Linked DNA regions of Homo sapiens: region 1 is linked to region 2. The links are contacts of gene promoters, found by promoter capture Hi-C in blood cells and fetal thymus (Javierre and others, 2016). All regions are on one chromosome and are shown on one strand. The core of a region is centred on a gene start or on the middle of the fragment in contact, and the rest is flanking DNA. Distances in the headings are between cores, read along the strand shown. Region 1 holds the start of NHLH1 (nescient helix-loop-helix 1). Region 2 overlaps SLAMF1 (signaling lymphocytic activation molecule family member 1).

The links. The method cuts DNA at HindIII sites, captures the fragments that hold promoters and counts their contacts. A CHiCAGO score of 5 or more calls a contact.
Region 1: a contact is called between the fragment with the promoter of NHLH1 here and a fragment that was not itself captured in region 2, in 3 of 17 cell types (naive B cells, total B cells and megakaryocytes). The highest score is 8.0, in naive B cells.

Annotation. Positions count from the first base shown.
Region 1 is chr1:160,365,807-160,368,506 of GRCh38, forward strand. It overlaps NHLH1 (nescient helix-loop-helix 1), which reads left to right and starts at 1,265. Exons shown (of 2, transcript NM_005598.4): 1 at 1,265-1,531. The HindIII fragment of the contact is 14,453 bases long and covers 1-2,700 here.
Region 2 is chr1:160,623,070-160,625,771 of GRCh38, forward strand. SLAMF1 (signaling lymphocytic activation molecule family member 1) reads right to left here. Exons shown (of 7, transcript NM_003037.5): 4 at 1,027-1,116. Among named protein-coding and RNA genes, the nearest start is that of SLAMF1, 23 kb to the right of the region's middle. RefSeq lists an enhancer at 1,676-1,805. The HindIII fragment of the contact is 4,206 bases long and covers 1-2,702 here.

The DNA of each region.
Region 1 (2,700 bases), core at 15-2,514, 260 kb before region 2:
TTATTTGTCCAAGGTCACACAGCTGACAGAGCCTTTTTCACTGTACCACACTACCTCTGGAGTCCTCTCCAGTCATGGTTCTTTTGAATACTCTCAAAGGTTCAGAGAAGACATCCAACAGCTGAGTGGGGAGAGAACTTCAGACACTGAAACCCTCTATGCACTGTCTCTCTATGCACTCTGGTCCCTGTGCTGCCCCTCCTCAATCCTGCCACTCGGCAACACACACATACACACACACACTCACACTTACATTCACATTCACACACACTTGCATATACATGCTGGAGGCTGCTGAGCTATTGATGGGAGCTTAATCAGTGCCCATTTGCATATAATTTTGTGTCTGGTTTTCTTATTGCTGATTTGATGCCCTCAAAACACACTCAGAGCCTGCCTAGGCTGCCCTGCCCTCCTCTCCCAGTGTCCTTCCAATCCTGGTTCTTCCTGTCTTGGCACTCCTCCACTCCTCTCCTTTTAGCCCTTACCTCTTTCTTCCTAAGAGCCCTCTAATTCCCAGTGGGTCAGGTTGGGCTGGCCAGCCTAGAAAAACTCCTTGTGGGGTCTGTGTCCCAAATTTGATCCTGCTCCTCCCCTTGGTGATGGGTTAGGTAGGAAGATAGCGGGTGGGGTAAGAGGGTATGGGGGTGATTGAGTCCCAGGGTGATGAGGGTAGGGGCCTGAACAGTTGCTACAGGCAGGCTGGCAAGCAGTGGGTACCAGCTTTATGAAGGATAAGAGCTTGAGGGCCAGGACCCTAGGGTCCTCTTCTGCATTTTAGTGCTACCCACTTGCTCTTTTCTCGGTTTCCCTGTTAGTACCTTGAAGAGTCTCCCTCTCAGGAAAAAAGAGACACCAGGAAGGGGCTGTCCAAGTCACGCTGGGACTCCGAATGGGGCCATGGCACTTAACCATAGCTTGCTGGGAGCCTCTGCCCTGCTGCCTCTGGTGTGGGAGACTGAGGGGGTTCATCTGTGGTCCTGCCCTGGCTCTCGCCCCAGCCCCACCCCTTCCCCAGCTCTCCATTTCTTGCTTATGAAATATGCATGGAGAACAGATGTCCCTGCTCCCCCGCTCCCCGCCCCCACCCAGGGCCAGCCCCCGCCCCCAGCTCCCGAGGGGTTCCCAGATCCCTCTGCCAATGGCTGCCTGGCCTGGCTGTTTAATATTGATGAGGGGGGGGTGGGCCTGGGCCAGCCAATGGAGAGCTGGGGGTGTGTGTGTGTATCTCCATATATATACATAGGGCTGGGCCAGCTCAGGTGTGTGTGTCTGAGGGTGTGTGTGTGAGTGTGGCTGGCCCCAGTACCTGGCCAAGCCCACCACTTCCACCTGGGCCCTACACCCCCACAATGTGTACCCCTCTTATCTGCCCTGGAGCCTGTACAGCCATGCCACGCTACCCCTGAGAGTCTAGAAAGCTGGTCACTAACTTTGCAGACGGATGAGCCTTGAGCACCCAGAGGAGACTGGGGCTGTCAACGCTGCCCCTTGTCCTGCCGGCTTGGATCCCCTGACAGGGTCCTTCTAGGTAAAGGGGAAACCATGGGCGGGGAGGGATGGGCGTGTCCCTCCCATTCTCTGGCTCAAGCCCCTTCCTAGAGCCTCCCTCTAGTTCTCTCCCTTGTGCGCTGTGTCTCTCCCTGTCTCCGCGTGTCCCTCTTCTCCACTCCTCCCCTTCGACTCTTTGTGCCTATCTATCCTCAGTTGGGTTAGGGCTGGCAGAAGTGGGGTGGGAAGTCCTGTCCTGCAGGCTTGGAATTGCTGCTCCCCTGATCCTTGGACCCTGGAACTTTGAGACCAGAAGTGGATTTGGGGGTGAGGACTTGATGGGTAAATAGAAGCTGCTGCCGGGACTGGAACTGGGGAGGACAATGGGGCCAGGTGGAGATGAGACTGGGGCCAGATGGGGAGCACGGAGAGGGGAAGGAAGGGCATGGCAAAGTGATGAGGGATGAAGGAACATAGGGACCGGGCAGAGAGAATTAGCCTGTGATAGATGTGATAAATGTGTTGGGAACTCCGCAGCTGAACTCCTGCTCCCAGCCCCAGCATGGGGGGTGGGGAGTTGGGGGCACTAAACATGTACTGGGAGGTGCTGACTTTGGGGCCTCCCACACTATTGCCATCCCCCCATAGTTCATTTGAACCCCAGAATATGGAATGTGTTCTCAATTTCAGCACTAACCACCTTCTGTTTCCTGTTAAGATTGTGTGTGTACTTGTCATCAGATGTGGATGACTTTGCATCCCTCCAGAGCTTCATAGCTGTTTGTTGGCTTGACTTGAACCTATCTTCTGTGTGGTGGGGTGGGGCAAGGCTTGGGAGGATCCTAACCCCTTTGAGAGTATCTATCAGACAGGAAAGCCAGGGCTGGGGAGGAAGGGGAGATAGTGATGGTGCAGGCACCTTGGTGCTTCTGTTTCTAATCATTCTTAGTTGAGCTGATGGTGAGTGGCCCACTGTTCCCCTTTAACACTGCACACAAGCAAAGCCCTTTCCCCAGCTTTTCCCAGGCCATGTTTGTGCTGCCTTGCCCTGATCTCCTCTGGTCCTAGGACAAGCAAACCTTAGCTGAGTCCCATAAGGGTAGCTCCAAAAATCTGTCTGTGTCCTCTGCAGGCCGTGTCTGAACCTTCCTTGGGCTATGGGAGAGTATGGGGGTAGAAGGTTGATTATGTTCCCTTTCCCCAATCTTC
Region 2 (2,702 bases), core at 3-2,502:
GCACTATTCCCTTAGAGCACAACCATGTGATAAGCCAAGTGTGGTTGAGGAAAGAGTATGGCGTAGGATCCCAGCAATTTTACTAGGTAGGTTAATGTGGATAAGTTAAGTTCAGTTTTCTCATCCTGGGTCATCTCACTATTTCCTTATAGTATGAGCTAAATGTGATTGCCCTACCCCGAGCCCCATAGGCTGTCAACCTAATTTCTATCTGAATCACCCATCCCTCCTACCTGGCTAACTCTTAGATGGAGGAAATGAGACACAAGTAGGTCGCTGTGCTATGATCTAGATTTTTTTATATATGCAAAACCAACATCAGAGTGCTGAGGTAAGGGCTTTTCTAAGAAGGTTGTGTGTAGATGACACTGATCTACTTGAGAATGAAATCAGTCATCAGCTCAGTGTTATGAGGATCAAGTTCTATCCTTACCATGGGAAGGCAGCCGGGGCATCTCTCCTGGTCTTGGGTCAGGACATTTTGACTCCAGTATTGGTTGGTAGTAGTCAAGGTGGCTGAGGGGAGCACAATGCCCTGAGATATTGTATCATAGGGAAATTTGGAAGAGAGGACAGGGGATGGTACCTCTAGGCACTTCAACTGCAGGGGAATAATTGTGCCTTATTGGTTTCATTCTAACCCTGGTGACTTTTTGGATGAGATCCAATAATTTTCTGAATTCTGTTCCCAGTGAATACTCTTAAACCTCTTGTTCACTTCTTCAGCATCCTGTGTTTACCCTGATGGCAGTGCTAGTCACACTAAACTGAAATTATCTGAATAATGTCTCTCACATTAGAAACCTGTGGCTCTTCTATTTCTTTCCACAGCCTAGTAGAGGGGATCAAGACATGTTGAATTAGACTGAATTAAGCAAGGTCCCAGGATATGTTTATCTACTATTTTTGCAAAGGTGGCCCCATGCAGAAAGCCAGAGTTGTGAGAGCAAGTCCGAGCCTGTGGAGAGAGGTCCCCTGCTTACCACAGAGAGTGTGATAAGAATCTATTTATTGCCAGACACCTACCTCTTCTTCTCAACTGTAGTATTACCACCATGATGAGAATCATGATGACACCCCCTAACAGCCCAGCATACACTGCCCATGGTTTTGTTTCTGGAAAAAAAAAGAAGTCAAAGAGCAATCTCAAAAGTATTCTGAGCTTAAAAACATCTTACATGAAAGTGGGATAATGGAGCCTCATGTTCTATTTCTGCATTCTCTCCCAAGGGAGACGTTTGTTTTCATGGTTTTAGAGGTCAGCTTTAGACCACTGAAAATTTTTGTATCTGTTTTCTTATTCTAATTTCTCTCACTATACTTTCACATTCTTAATTTCATGAAGATTTTTCTATCCAAATGCTTTATTTTTAACTCAACTACCACATGTCTAACATTAAATTATCTTCATCTCTCCTAAGTCAATCTCTCTGCCCAGTTTCTCCATCTTAAGATTGCTAATGTGTCCTGTATCCATTTTGGGTAAAGAGAATATAATGGTTCCATGTGCCGTCCCTGTGAATTCACGCTATTCTCATGAGACACTGGGAGGAAGAAAGATCTACTTATCTTTTTTAAAAATAAACATAATAGTGCTATTGTTGTCCTTTCATGCAAATAACTGGGTTGAACCCAGCAGACCTGAACTGAAAGGAAAGTATTTAGTCTTTCCTCTAAATCATCTTCATGTTTAAAATTAGCCCGAGAACTAATCATCAAGGCTCAAAATCAGAGAGAAAACTTTTATTGTTTTCTCTCCTTTACCCACTTTATCAAATCCTTTTGAACTAGGAGCAACACTTTGACAAACAGTGAATGAGAATTATCACCCCCAGTAAACAAGACATGTAGCTCAATAAGATTATAATGAACAATTATTGAGCACTTGCAATGGGCCACATATTTTTAGTGCATCATGTGTACTAACATATTTAATCCTCACAATAATCTTACAAGGTAGGTACACTCATTATTCTCATTTTATGGAGAAGGAAAACAGCCTGGAGAACCTCAAGAACTAGAGCTTGGTTTAGTAGTAGAAATGTGGCTGAATACTAAAGACAGACTTCTTGGAGAGTTAGAGAGACTTATGGGCTTGGAAAAAGTTATACCGGGGTAATGAACAGTGGGGACCGAGCTGAAGCCCTAGGGTTCTAAGTAGAATATTCGCACTAAGGTTCTAAATAGAGTAACACCAGATGTTAACATTAATGTGTAAGGGAAACTTATAAGGATGATTGTGGAATAAGCCTGCTTGTTGTTGAACCTGTGAGGAATTTGTGGGGCAGAAATTGAAAGAAAAATAGTCGGGTTCCAAAGGAAAGAATCATGGTGGACACAATCAGATGTTTACAGAGTTGACCAAAGATACAGACAGTCTCAATGAATTCATAAAATGCAGCCTACAAGATCCAAAGGGGCCTCCAGCCTGATAGCTGGCAAGAAGTTGCCTTCTGGATTTGAAAAGATTCTTTTTCTCCTTAGGCCTTTCACACATCAAGTTAGCCCAAGGAATCTCACTGAACTGACTTTGCAAACACCTTGGTTATAGGTTCTATCCCCTAAATTAAATGTTTTAATTTTGCCAGATACCAACTTCAACAGTCTTATGCTCTGATTAAAAAAAAAAGTTAGGAGGCAGGCAGAGAGTTCTGAATTTGTATAAAGCATGACATTTTGAATCATTGCTGATGCTGGAGGAA